3 separate regions of the Homo sapiens genome follow, and regions 2 and 3 are each linked to region 1. The links are contacts of gene promoters, found by promoter capture Hi-C in human tissues and cell types (Jung and others, 2019). All regions are on one chromosome and are shown on one strand. Each heading gives the region's core, a stretch centred on a gene start or on the middle of the fragment in contact. The rest is flanking DNA. Distances are from core to core; before and after follow the strand shown.

Evidence for each region. Contacts are between HindIII fragments. The study calls those that stand out against the background at their distance.
Region 2: the fragment with the promoter of FUT2 here is called in contact with the fragment with the promoter of PLEKHA4 in region 1 in 1 of the 25 tissues and cell types used here (adrenal gland).
Region 3: a fragment that was not itself captured here is called in contact with the fragment with the promoter of PLEKHA4 in region 1 in 1 of the 25 tissues and cell types used here (lymphoblastoid cells).

Annotation. Positions count from the first base shown.
Region 1 is chr19:48,866,075-48,870,799 of GRCh38, reverse strand. It overlaps PLEKHA4 (pleckstrin homology domain containing A4), which reads left to right and starts at 2,183. Exons shown (of 20, transcript NM_020904.3): 1 at 2,183-2,717; 2 at 3,174-3,263. The coding sequence starts at 3,180. The HindIII fragment of the contact is 25,039 bases long and covers 1-4,725 here.
Region 2 is chr19:48,692,676-48,697,400 of GRCh38, reverse strand. It overlaps FUT2 (fucosyltransferase 2 (H blood group)), which reads right to left and starts at 1,430. Exons shown (of 2, transcript NM_000511.6): 1 at 1,312-1,430. RefSeq lists enhancers at 468-1,031, 1,596-2,159. The HindIII fragment of the contact is 31,324 bases long and covers 1-4,725 here.
Region 3 is chr19:48,720,919-48,725,643 of GRCh38, reverse strand. It overlaps RASIP1 (Ras interacting protein 1), which reads left to right. Exons shown (of 12, transcript NM_017805.3): 9 at 684-927; 10 at 1,135-1,307; 11 at 3,643-3,790; 12 at 4,647-4,725. Among named protein-coding and RNA genes, the nearest start is that of MAMSTR, 3.6 kb to the right of the region's middle. RefSeq lists enhancers at 4,579-4,628, 4,333-4,725 and a cis regulatory region at 4,596-4,725. The HindIII fragment of the contact is 3,220 bases long and covers 1,866-4,725 here.

The DNA.
Region 1 (4,725 bases), core at 934-3,433:
TAACCAGGATGGTCTCGATCTCCTGACCTTGTGATCCACCCGCCTCGGCCTCCCAAAGTGCTGGGATTACAGGTGTGAGCCACCGCACCCGGCCGACCAGGCTGGTCTTGAACTCCTGACCTCAGGTGATCTGCCCGCCTTGGCTTCCCAAAGTGCTGGAATTACAGTTGTGATCCACTGTGCCTGGCCTCCTACCCCAATTTAGCCCACAGGCCCCAGCCTAGAGTCTCCCATTTTCTTTTTTTTTTCTTTTCTTTCTTTTTTCTTTTTCTTTCTTTTTTTTTTTTTTTTTTTGAGACGGTGTCTCACTCTGTCACCCAGGCTGGAGTGCAATGGCATGATCTTGGCTCACTGCAACCTCCGCCTCCCGGGTTCAAGCAATTCTCCTGCCTCAGCCTCCTGAGTAGTTGGGAGTACAGGAGCTTGCCACCACGCCTGGCTAGAGTCTCCTATTTTCACATGTGGTTGGTTTCCTCCCCGAGTGCGAGGGTGTCATTGTTCCCATTTCACAGATGGGGAAACAGGCTTGGAAATGAAGCCACTTGACCAAGATAGTCACAGCAGGGTCCAGATTCCTTGCAAATGAGAATGAGGATGTAAGCACTATGAGATCAGGCACTTTGCTGGGCTCAATGCTTTTCAAAAAAAAGTAATTAGGCTGAGCGCGGTGGCTCACGCCTGTAATCCTAGCACTTTGGGACGCTGAGGCAGGTGGATCATGAGGTCAGGAGATCAAGACCATCCTGGCTAACACGGTGAAACCCCGCCTCCACTAAAAATACAAAATAAATTAGCCGGGCGTGGTGGTGGGCACCTGTAGTCCCAGCTACTCGGGAGGCTGAGGCAGGAGAATGGCGTGAACCTGGGAGGCAGAGCTTGCAGTGAGCTGAGATCGTGCCACTGTACTCCAGCCTGGGCGACAGAGCGAGACTCCGTCTCAAAAAAATAATAATAATAATTAATTTAGGCCGGGTGCAGTGGCATGTGCCTGTAGTTCCAGCTACTCAGGAGGCTGAGTCAGGAGAATCGCTTGAACCCGGGAGGCGGAGGTTGCAGTGAGCCGAGATCACGCCACTGCACTCCAGCCTGGCGACAGAGCAAAACACCGCCTCAAAAAAAAAAAAAAAAGAAATTCATTTTCTAAATAGAGACAAGGTCTCGCTATGATGCCCAGGCTGGTGTTGAACTCCTGGTCTCAAGCGATCCTCCTGCCTTGGCCTCCCAAAGTGCTGGGATTACAGGCGTGAGCCATTGCACCCAGCCAGGGCTCACTGCTTTCTTCTCAGTGGCTGCAACAGACAGTGCCTGCACACAGTAGGTGCTCAACAGGTGCATGGTGAATGGCAGTTAAACCGAAAGCTCAGATTCCTTCCCGGTCACAGGCACAAGGCTCCACTCCTGGGTGTCATCTGCTTCAGACTTAGGCAGTAGCTCTGCCCCCACAAGCCGCGATTCTGCCTGGGTGGCACTCTTTGTGCGGGTGGGGGCGCTTCTGCTACAAGTTCCAGGCCCTGGGTGACAGTTCCAGCCCCCCGCTCTCCTCCCCTGCCTACGGATGCATAATCTTGTTCCTCAAAATATACCAAGGAATCATGTCTCTCTCCTGAGGGAGTTGTCCTCAGTCTAGAAGAGAATTCTCACCTGGATCTGAGGTGGAGGTTTGGAACTCTCCATTTCACCCTGCCCTACTGGGACCATCCCCTTTTCTCCCTAGGGGACCTGGACAAACCGTCCCTGGCCCCTTCCAAGCACAGCCATGTTTCCAGACCCCCAGCTCTTTCACGACTCAGGAGTCCTGATCCTAGCTCAGACCTTCTCGGGCACCCAGGAGTCTGGATCCCTAACCCATTCCCTCCAGGGCTTTGGAAATTTGAGTCCCCACCCCTTGCAGGACACAAGCCTCCTCCGTTTAGGACACCAGTGGCTCAGGCCCCCAACCACAGCAGCAAACCCACGGGGGCCCTGGAGTGCAGGCCTCAAGTCCAACTCTCCAAACACTGAGAAGTCCCAACCTTGGTCCTTAGGGGACCTGGGAATTGGGGGGCCCAAGCCCCTCCCTTCAGCTATGGGGGCAGCTGAGCCAGAGGTCAGGCTGTAGTGGGGAGGCCAGAAGGGGCGGGGACAGCCGGGATTGGGAGGGGAGAACAGCAGCGTGGGCGGCTGGCAGAGGCAGGGAAAGACCAGCAGAGAGGAAAGAGAAACTGGGAGAGGGAGGAAGGGAGAAAGTGAGAAGGGAAATCGGAAAGAGAAAAGGGAGGAAACGGCAGAGCCAGAGAGAAAGAGGAAGAGACTGAGTGTGAAGGAGAGAGGACACAGGGGATGACTGAGAGACAGAGAGAGAGAGAGAGAGAGAATGAGACAGAGACTTAAGGAAGAGACCCTGTGAGTCTGACAATAAAAGATTTGGACAGAAACAGAAAGATTGGAGAGAGAGAGAGAGGGAGAGAATGAGTGAGAGAGAGACTGGAAGAGACAGAGATCAGAGGGAGACACAGAAAGTGAGAGTGGGGAGAGAGGTAGTGTAAAAGGAAGAGAGAGAGAGAGAGACCGTAAGAGACAGGAGACAAAGAGACAAAAAGTGTGAGTGAGCAGGTGAGGAGAGAGATTGAGAACTATGAGAGACAGCAGCTAAGAGACAAAGGAGGCGGGAGACTGCCTAGGTGCCGCAGCACCCACACCGTCCTCTTGCCCCCCCGTCACTGGGACCCCAGAGCTGGGTAAGTTCCCTGGCTGGGCTGGGAGGGGCTCTCTGGGTTCACATTCCTGGTGCCGCAGGGCTTGGCTTGGGGAGTTGGCAGGGGTGGTTTGGGGGTGCATGTGGGAGGGCGGGAGACAGGTAGCCTGGGGCAGCCGGAAGGAGGCAGGGAATGGGGAGTCCCTAAGCACAGAGAGGGTCAAATTCCTGGCCTGAGTGCAGTGGGCAGGAATAAAGAAGCCCCTATTCTCTGGCCTGGGCTGCAGACAGCTGCCCCCTCCCGCAGCTGCCAGGGCCGCCTACCTCTCTTGGCACCACTCTTGGTATGTGGTCACGGGCCATGGCCTCCCCCAGCCCCCCAAGTCCCGAAACAACAGGCTCTTTCTCTGCAGCCTCCTCCGACCTCCAAGCCCCTGACCCCATCTCTGTCTCACACCCGTCACTGCAGAGACACAGCCCCTTTCTTTCTCTCCCCCAGCCCTTGATGGAGGGGAGCCGACCTCGCAGCAGCCTGAGCCTGGCCAGCAGCGCCTCCACCATCTCCTCGCTCAGCAGCCTGAGCCCCAAGGTTTGAGCTTCCTGGCGGGGATGGGGAGGAAGGTGGGGCTCTGGGCCGCCCATCCTTCTGTTTCCCCAAGGACTCTGGTTGTTAAGGACAAAGATCCTTAGCAACGGGGTCTGCCAGACATAGTAAGGTCCCAAATTGCCTACACACCGCAGCTAGGAATTCAGAGGCACTCCCAGCTCTGTCCCCACCCTTTGTATTTTCCTAATTCTAAACCAGAGTAACAACCTCCCTTGACCCTGGTTGCTAAGATAAAGCCGCTCCCCAGCCATGAGGCCCCTCGAGTTCTGAGAAGTAGTGGCTGCTCTTGATTAGTGCCAGAACTTGCTGTCCTATCTCTCGCCATCCAATCTACCCACTAATGAAATCCTATAAGGAGAGACCCTTCTCTGACAATAAGACCCAAGGGGCCTCCAGATACTTGCATCCCAAATCGGCATCCCAGCCAAAAGCTTAGGGAGACACTCATTTCTTTTTCCTCCTGCCGTTCCACACATATTGTTTCTCAAGTTCAGAGCCCAGAGATCTGATCTCAGCCTTGGTCAGTACCACCGCTTCCAAGGAAGGGCATATTGTCGGGACCTGGCTAAGGATGCCTGAGATATCTGTGGGCATCAGGAGATGAGGCTCCATCCGGGCAGGATGGAGGGATTTGAGGCTTCCTCTCCTTGTACTTGGTTGCTAAGGGGTGTGACCGCAGGGCACCAGGGCATCCTTTGATTCACTGGAGACTCAGCGTGAGAGTTCCCCCTGATTATGGGGCCCTCCCAGCCCATAGTCCCAGTTCAGATCCCAAAGGACCTACTACAGCTCTGGCTCTGGTGGCCAAGGGCATCTGCTTCTTGGCAGTGGATGCTTGATCCCCAAATTGCTTCCCTACAGCCTCTTCCTTGCCTCTGAACACCTCCCTCTGCCCATCAAAAAAAGAGTCTCGGCCCGGCGCAGTGGCTCACGCCTATAATCCCAGCACTTTAAGAGGCTGAGGCGGGTGGATCACCTGAGGTCAGGAGTTCAAGAGCAGCCTGACTGACATGGCGAAACCGCGTCTCTGCTAAAAATACAAAAATTAGCCAGGCGTGGTGGCACGTGCCTGCAATCTCAGCTACTCAGGAGGCTGAGGCAGGAGAATCACTTGAACCCGAGAGGCAGGGGTTGCAGTGAGCCAAGATGGTGCCAGTGTGCTCCAGCCTGGGGGACAGAGCGAGACTCTGTCTCAAAAGAAAAAGAAAAAAAGAGTCTCTCCCAGCCTGGGCAACAAAGTGAGACCCCCGTCCCCTACAAAAAGTAAAAAAATTAGCTGGGCATGGTGGGACATGCCTGTGGTCCCAGCTACATGGGAGGCTGAGGCTGGAGGATCACCTGAGTCCAGGAGGTAAAGGCTGCAGTGTTTAGGCTACTGCACTCCAAAGAGCCTGTCAAAAAAAAAAGAGTCTCTTAACTCTGCAATAAGAACACCTCCCAATTC
Region 2 (4,725 bases), core at 181-2,680, 170 kb after region 1:
TGAGACACCACACCTGGTCTATCTTACTGAGATTTTTTTTTTTTTTTTTTTTTTTGAGACGGAGTTTTGCTCTTGTTCCCCAGGCTGGAGTGCAATGGCACAATCTCGGCTCACCACAACCTCCGCCTCCCGGGTTCAAACGATTCTCCTGCCTCAGCCTCCCGAGTAGCTGGGATTACAGGCATGCACCACCACGCCTGGCTAATTTTGTATTTTTAGTAGAGACGGGGTTTCTCCATGTTGGCCAGACTGGTCTCGAACTCCTGACCTCAAGTGATCCGCCTGTCTCGGCCTCCCAAAGTGCTGGGATTACAGGCGTCAGCCACCACGTCCAGCCCCGTCCACGTCTTTCTATTGCGGCCCGGCTTCCTCCTCTCCCCTCTGTCCCCTACACCCAGCGCCGGCCCTGCCCCTTCCCAGCTCGCAGCCCCTTCAGGGCTCCCTATGCCTCTTAAGACACAATCCCAGTCTCTCGCCGGCCCCGCACACCCCTCCGGCTTTGTCACCAGCTGTTCCCGTGAAATAACCCAGCTCTCCGCTCACCCGGGGCCCCGTCCTGTCCCCCAGCTCTGAAAGCCTTTCTCTACCCCAACCGCCCCGTGCCCCGGGCAGCTCAGCACATCCGGCTCAGTCGCACCCCACTGCCTCGAGCTCGCTGTCTTCCTGCACCTCCCCGGGATTCCCGGATTCCCGGCATTATCACTTCCACCCTGGGGAGGAGAAGGGAGCTTCAGACAATAACGTAGGGCCATCACTTGGAAACCCCACCTTTATTCTCCGACCCAGAACAGAAGCGGTGATTCAGAGCGGGATTAGGGAGTGCAGGAGGGACGGAGCCGCCCTCCCTGGGCGACGGCAGGGCTCGGAGGTGAGACCAGCAGTTTGGGTTCCATGAAGCCTCTGAGGAGCCCCAGGGTGGAGGCAGGAAAGTCGGGTCACCACCAGCTGTGCGCGAGCCATCTGCACCATTACTGCCAGGGTGGTTCATAGAAACTGCTGAGGGGAAGGAGACAAGGAAGGACCTGGTGGCCCGGGGTGGAGAAGGGGAGGGAGCTGGTGGTTGGAGCTCTAGAAACAGATCCACCTGGAAGGAAGTGGGGAGGGAGCTAAGGAGGGCGGCTGGCTGGGGAGGGGGGTCCTGGCTGCCGAGGGAGGGACCCTCCTCTCCTGGAGGTCCTGAGTTGGGGGTGCCTCCCAGAGGGCACCAGGGACCCACGAGGGCACACAGGTCCACGTCCCAAATCCCTGCTCTCCGCCTGGGCGTGTGTGCAGAGGTGTGCGTGTTGTAGGGTGGGAGAGGAGCCCCCTCACCTTCTCTCACCTGGTCCTGCTGAAGGAAACCGGGACAGAGTGGTTGGGCAGGCACCTCAGTGTTCCCTCTGGGTCTCTCTTCACTCAGGGCCAAAGAAACCCTTCCAGCATCGGTGACTGGCAAACCCCGCCCAGGAGCTACAGGGCTTTCCAGAGCAGGTGTGGCTGGGCTGCGGGAGGGAGGTGAGCCCGTAGCCCCTCCTCCCTCCCCATTGCCGGCCACAAAGTCCATCTTGTTATCTACCCTTAGCTCCTCCACCTGCACCAGGCACCCCAAGCCTGGCCATAAGGGTGGGGGAGAGAGGCAGGACAAGGTCGCATCCCCCATCCGGGTCCCCGAGGGTCTTCCTTGGGGAACTGTTGTGATGCCCCAACAGAAAGGGGCCCCCACTCTGCTCCGCTCCTCCAGGCAGCCAGGAAGGCCTCCAGGAAGGCAGCATGGAGGCGGGGGACAGAGTCCTGCTAGGCCAGGCTCTCGCTGACTCTGAGTCCCCTCAGAGTCTTATATTTATTTATTAATTAATTATTAGTAGTATTACTTTTTGAGAGAGTTTTGCTCTTGTTGCCCAGGCTGGAGTGCAATGGCGTGATCTCAGCTCACTGCAACCGCCGCCTCACAAGTTCAAGGGATTCTCCTGCCTCAGCTTCCCAAAGTGCTGGGATTACAGACGTGAGCCACCTCGCCCTGCCTATTTCAAAAAAATTTTTAAATACAAATGGGCCCGGTGTGGTGACTCACACCTGTAATTCTAGCACTTTGGGAGGCCGAGGCAGGCGGATCAACTGAGGTCAGGAGTCAGAGACCAGCCTGGCCAACAAGGTGAAACCCCGTCCTTATAAGAATACAGAAATTAGCCATGGCCCAGCACAGTGGCTCATGCCTGTAATCCCAGCACTTTGGGAGGCCGAGGCAGGTGGATCACCTGAGGTCAGGAGTTTGAGACCAGTCTGGCCAACATGGTGAAACCCTGTCTCTACTAAAAATGCAAAAATCAGTGGGGCGTGGTGGCATGCACCTGTAATCCCAGCTACTTGGGAGGCTGAGGCAGGAGAATCGCTTGAACTTGGGAGGCGGAGGTTGCAGTAAACTGAGATTACACCATTGCACTCCAGCCTGGGAAACAAGAGCAAAACTCTGTCTCAAAAAAAAAAAAGATGGATGAGGAATTTTACTGAGAGAAGAGGCAGGCACCACCAGAGCTCCCAGCAGTCCTAACAGGAGGAAAGAGAAACCAGCAGCCACTCCCCAGCTTCAGCTAAGCAGCAGGAGGCTACCTACCAGCTACGGAGCTCCCTTCAAACAAACAAACAAAAAAATCAGATCAAGCTTCCCACTCTAACCACCAGTTTGCAGAAAACAGGAGGACAAAGTTCCCAGTGAAACGACACCATGAGGCAGCAATCAGCCCAGTCCAGAATGTGAGCCCGTCCACAGGACAAACGACCTGTTTCCCTGTGATTCAGCGACAAGGAAAAAAGAAACAGGGTGGGGCGGGGAAGTGGGGAGGTGAGCTGTCATAAAATATGCAAAACAGGCCAGGTGTGGTGGCTCACGCCTGTAATCCCAGCACTTTGGGAGGCTGAGTCGGGCGGATCACGAGGTCAGGAGATTGAGACCATCCTGGCTAATACAGTGAAACCCCGTCTCTACTAAAAATATATATAAAAAAAAAATTAGCCGGGCGTGGTGGTGGGTGCCTGTAGTCCCAGCTACTTGGGAGGCTGAGGCAGGAGAATGGCGTGAACCCCGGGGGCGGAGCTTGCAGTGAGCCGAGGTCACACCACTGCACTCCAGCCTGGGCGACAGAGCAAGACTCCCTCTCAAAAAAAAAAAAAAAAAAAAAACGCAAAACAGATTTGGGGCTCAGAGGCTTAGACTTTCCAACTCCATGAATGTCCCACAGATGTTCCAAAGTCATGGGAATGACCTGGGCGCAGTGGCTCATGCCTGCAATCCCAGCACTTTGGGAGGCCGAGGCAGGAGGATCACCTGAGGTCAGGAGTTTGAGACCAGCCTAGCCAACATTTTTTTTTAGTGAAACTCCATCTCTACTAAAAATACAAAATTAGCTGGGCATGGTGGTGCACGCCTGTAATCCCAGCTACTCAGGAGGCTAGGGGAGGAGAATTCCTTGAACCTGGGAGGCAGAGGTTGCAGTGAGCCGAGATGGTACCACTGCACTCCAGCCTGGGTGACAGAGCAAGACTCTGTCTCAAAAATAAAACAAAGTCCTGAGAATGCAGGACAAACCTTCATTGCGTAACTTTTATTGTCGCTGACCCCAGCCGCGTAAACGCTGTGGTAGCATCCTAGGACCTCCACTGTGACAACTAAAAACAACCCCCACAGATTCCCATAACTCCCCCAGGGGGACAGCACTCCGGAATTCAGGACTGTTGCCCTAAACCCTCTGTTTTCCATTTCAGCTTTCCCTTACTGGTGCACGCCCCCATGCTTGGCCACCACGGCCAATTTCAAGCTACCAATAAGAGATCATTGAACATGGAATTGGAAAGAAACGCACAGTAATACATTGTTCTATAGTAAGTCTTCTTACTATGGTAAACACTTACCAGCCAGTTCTCTGGAGAAAAAAACACACTGTATGTTAGTATCTGCCAATCTGTGTGCCAATCAATGTATGTGCTCACTGCAACCTCCGCCTCCTGGGCTCAAATGAGTCTCCTGCCTTGGCCTCCTGAGTAGCTGGGACTACAGGTGCCCGTCACCACACTCAGTTAATTTTGTGTTTTTTTGTAGAGATGGGGTCTCACTATGTTACCCAGGCTGGCCTCGAACTCCTGAGCTCAAAGCGATCCTCCTGCCTCAGCCTCCCAAAGTGCTGGGATTACAGGTATGAACCATCTTGCCTGGCCTATTTACATTTATTATGTCTGTGTAATAGGCTTGCTATAGAACAATGTAATACTGTGCATTTCTTTCCAATTGCATGTTCAATGATCTCATATTGGTAGCTTGAAATTGGCCGTGGTGGCCAGGCATGGAGGCATGCACCTGTAATCTCAGCTACTCAGGAGGCTGAGGCAGGAGCATAGCTTGAAGCCAGAAGTTAAAGACCAGCCTGGGCAACATAGCAAGACCTTGTCTCTCTACAAAAAATAAAGAAAATTAGCCAGACATGGTGGCACATGTCTGTAGTCCCAGCTACTTGAGAGGCTGAGGCAAGAGGAGCCCAGGAGGTCCAGCGTCAGCTATGATCCTGACGCTGCACTCCAGCCTGAGTGACAGAGAAAGACCCTGCCTCTGAAAAATTAAAAAATAAATCTGGGCACAGTTGTTCACGCCTGTAATCTCAGCACTTTGGGAAGCTGAGGCAGGCAGATTGCTTGAGACCGGGAGTTCGAGACCAGCCTGGCTAACATGCTGTAACCCAGTCTCTACTAAAAATACAA
Region 3 (4,725 bases), core at 2,226-4,725, 150 kb after region 1:
CAGATCTTTTTCTCTGAGTGCCCTTCCTGGAAGGGCCTGCTTTCTGCCCCAGTTTCCCCCCCATTACCCTTGACCTTAACACCACTTCTTGGCATTCTCAGGGTTTCTGGCTTATGGTGGGCTTGATGCCCTATGTGCAAGAATGAGAGAGGATCTTTTGGGACAGCTAACTATCAGTCTCTAAGTTCCTCTAGCAGCCTGGATTGTGAAGCCCTTTCCTCCTTCACTTCCTGTACATTCCTGCCAAGTGTGCGTTTATTTCTTCTGTTTCTGACCTCATTTCCTGTCCTTGGCCTGATCTCATTTTCCACTGGCAAACTGCCATCCCACTCCCACTTCCTGACTCTCCATTCTTTTTCTTTCCTTTGGGAATTCAGGATGAATAATTCTTTGACTGAAAGGGAACTCTTTGTCCAGTATCCTTTGTCCTCCTTGAGCTGTCTCTGCTGAGAACTACAAGTCCCACAATGCACAAGAGGTGATCTTAAAATACTCGAGAAACTTGTATACCCTTCTATCAAGTAGGGATTTGCTCACGGAGACCCTTTGGGTGTTGACTGTAGAATGGACTACAACTCCCAGAAGACTTTGGTGGAGCTCCCCACTATCTTCATGCTCTATTACCCTGAAGCTTCCTGGGAGTTGTAGTCCAATCACTTGTTTCCACTTCTCTATTTTCTCAGACTCTCTATTCAACGCTGCCTGCTCTCCTGGATAGTAACCCTTTCACAGCTGGTGCAGAGCTGCCGGGGCCTGGCGCGGAGCTGGGGGCCATGCCTCCAGGATTGAGACCTACCCTGGGCGTGTTCCAGGCAGCCTTGGAGCTGACCAGCCAGTGCGAGCTGCACCCTGACCTCGTGTCTCAGACTTTTGGCTACTTGTTCTTCTTCTCCAACGCATCCCTTCTCAACTCGCTGATGGAACGAGGTGAAGGTTGGCTGGGAGCTGTCAGGGAGGCAAAGACAGGAGCCACTGAGACTCAGGTCATATTAGACACACCACGGGCTCAAGCCTCACCTTTGGGTACCCTGGAGAACAAGCTCCAGATCCCAGGCTGAAGGATAGGAAGAGTCTGGGAGGCAGGAGCACAGAGTCCAGCCAACCAACTGCCTCTCATACCTTTAACACCCACAGGTCAAGGCCGGCCTTTCTATCAATGGTCCCGAGCTGTTCAAATCCGAACCAACCTGGACCTCGTCTTGGACTGGCTACAGGGAGCTGGGCTGGGCGACATTGCCACTGAGTTCTTCCGGAAACTCTCCATGGCTGTGAACCTGCTCTGTGTGCCCCGCACTTCCCTGCTCAAGGTGACTCCTGGTCAGCTATACCTGACCCCTGACCTCTGACTCCTCAACCCCCCTCAGCCACCTTCTATATTCAGCTCACCGTCAGAGCTCCCCTTGAACCCCATGCCATCCCCAGCCCCAGCTCAGACACTGTGGGTAACACATTGGCAGGTAGAAGGAAGCCAGCACCAACAATGACTAAACTCGGCTGTGTCTGAATCCTGGTGGAACTTATTAAAAATAGTTTCCAGGCCAGGAGCAGTGGCTCGCGCCTATAATCCCAACACTTTGGGAGGCCTAAGTAGGTGGATCACTTGAGGCCAGGAGTTTGAGACCAGCCTGGCCAACATGGCGAAACGCTGTCTCTACTAAAAATACAAAAATTAGCCAGGCTTGATGGCGCACGCCTGTAATCCCAGTTACTCTGGAGGCTGAGGGAGGAGAATCGCTGGAACCTGGGAGGCAGAAGCTGCAGTGAGCCAAGATTGCACCATTGCACTCCAGCCGGGGCGACAGAGCGAGACCCTGTCTCCAGAAAAAAAAAAAAAAAAAAAGTTTCCAGGGTCCCTCACTCAGACATGCTGAGTCAGAAAGTGTGGTATGAGACAAAGGAACATGATGATTAAAACATTCATTGAACATGAACTACCTGCCAGGCACCCTGTTTAGCACTTCTAGTTTAATGCTGACAAAGCCCCATCGAAGTAGGTGACTGACTGTTTTTTGGATGAGGAAACAGAATCAGGTAGGACAGGTCGCTTGATTTCACTTATTTTTCCTTTTTTTTTTTTTTTTTTTGAGACGGAGTCTCACTCTGTCACCCAGGCTGGAGTGCAATGGCATGATCTCGGCTCACTCCAACCTCCGCCTCCCGAGTTCAAGCGATTCTCCTGCCACAGCCTCCTGAGTAGCCGGGATAACAGGCACGCGCCACCACACCCGGCTAATTTTTGTAATTTTGGTAGAGACAGGGTTTCACCTTGTTGGGCAGACTGGTCTTGAACTCCTGACCTCAGGGGATGCGCCTGCCTCGGCCTCCCAAAGTGCTGGGATTACAGGCGTGAGCCACCATGGCCGGCCAATTTCAATTATTTATTTTCCTTTCTTCTTAAATATCTTACAAAAACTGTTCCCCATAGACATTTATTTATTTATATCAAATGTTTATAATGGGCTGGGCGTAGTGGCTAATGCCTGTAATGCCAGCATTTTGGGAGGCCGAGGTGGAAGGACCGCTTGAGCCCAGGAGTTTGACACCAGTTGGCAACATAGGGGAGACACCATCTCTACCAAAAATTTTAAAAATTAGCCAGGTGTGGAGGCACACGTCTGTGGTCCCAGCCACTCCAGAAGCAGAGGTGGAAGGACTGCTTGAGCCCAGGAGGTTGAGGCTGCAGTGAGCCACAGTCATGCCACTGTACTCCAGCATGGGTGACAAAGCAAGACCCTGTCTCAAAACAATAAGAAAGAAAGTTTACCATGCATTTAATAAGCCCCAGGCAGTGTTCCAAGTACTTTACAATTTTGCCATATTGCATCCTCATACCAACTCTATTAGATAGTTCCTGTTCTCCAAATTTATGGATGAGGAGACTAGGGGACGGTGACCTGCCGGAAGGTAATAAGTGACCCACCTGGGATTTTTGAACTCAGGCAGTCTAGGTGGAGTCTCTGATGTTAAGCACATTGATGGTTCTGACGTCAGCTACATCAGGTGTAGACATTGTCAAACAGATATAGAGTGGCCGCCATAGAATAATGAATCCCAACTGGGCGCAGTGGCTCATGCCTGTAATCCTAGAACTTTGAGAAGCTTGAGACCAGCCTGGGCAGCATAGTGAGATCCCATCTCTACAAAAACTTAACCAGGTGTGGTGGCGTGTGCCTGTAGTCCCAGCTACTCTGGAGGCTGGGGCCAAGGATCACTTGAGCCCAGGATCACTTGAGCCGGGAGTTTGAGGCTGCAGCAAGCCACGATCGAGCCACTGCACTCCAGCCTGGGCGACGGAGTGAGACCCTGTCTCTTTAAGGACAAAAAAAAAAAAAAAAAAAAAAAATCCCCAAGTACCATCGCCAGATTCAATAATATAAACGAATGGCCAATCTTATTTATTTCCACCCTACTCATTTCCTGTATCCTCAATTATCCTGAGGCACATCACATTTTTACAAATTGCTGGGAGCACACCCTTCCCCACCATCACTTTGGTGATAAACAGACTTCACAGTGCCCAGAAGACACTGCAGAGATGCCATTATCTTCCCACCACACCCACTCCCCTTATGGAAGCCCTTCCATTTCATTTCTTAACTGCCCCGTAATGACCATCAACCTCTCACCTGGTCTTCCCACCAGGCTTCATGGAGCAGCCTAAGAACCGACCACCCCACCTTGACCCCCGCCCAGCTGCACCATCTGCTCAGCCACTATCAGCTGGGCCCTGGCCGCGGGCCGCCAGCCGCGTGGGACCCTCCCCCTGCAGAGCGGGAGGCTGTGGACACAGGTGAGGAGCAATGGGATACAGCATTGGGGCTGTCAGCTTTCTTCTTCTTTTGAGACGGAGTCTCGCCCTGTCACTCAGGCTGGAGTGCAATGGCGCGATCTTGGCTCACTGCAACCTCTGCCTCCCGGGTTCAAGCGATTCTCCTGCCTCAGCCTCCCGAGTAGCTGGGATTACAGGCATGCGCCACCACGCCTGGCTAATTTTTTGTATCTTTAGTAGAGACGGGGGTTTCACCGTGTTGGCCAGGCTGGTCTCGAACTCCTGACCTCGTGATCCGCCCGCCTCGGCCTCCCAAAGTGCTGGGATTACAGGCGTGAACCACCTCACCTTTCTTCTTTTCTCAGGATCTTGGAGTCCAGATCCCCAGTCTCCTTCTAACCCCAGATTCTGGACCCCTGTCCCTCCCCACCAGGACATAAGTGCAGGACCCAGCCCCTTCCCCCGTCAAGATACAGGAGTTCAAGCCCCCAGCTCCCTTTATTCTCTGGGGTTCGCATCCCTAGTCCATTCCCTCCACCAGCCACCCACCCACCACCCCTAGGAGTCCAGGTCTCGGGACTTTCACTCCCCTGAACTTGACTCCTCCACCTTTAGGAATCTGTAAGGCAAGTTCCCAGCCCTTTCTCGGGGATTTGGGAAGCCGTTTCCCAGGCAACGGTGGCCTTCCATCGTCTGAACTACAACTTCCATCATGCCCAGGGGCTCCTAGAGTAGCGTGTGAACGGACCCCGCCCCAGGAGTTGCTGGGGTTTGTAGTTTTTTTCTTCCTTTGGGTGTGACGCAGCCTCGGCTCTTCCCGATGCAACTACCTCACTCCCACTTTCAGACTCTAACCGCGCCGCCTTCGGCCTCACAGGGGACATCTTCGAAAGCTTCTCCTCGCACCCGCCCCTCATCCTCCCCCTGGGGAGCTCGCGCCTGCGCCTCACTGGTCC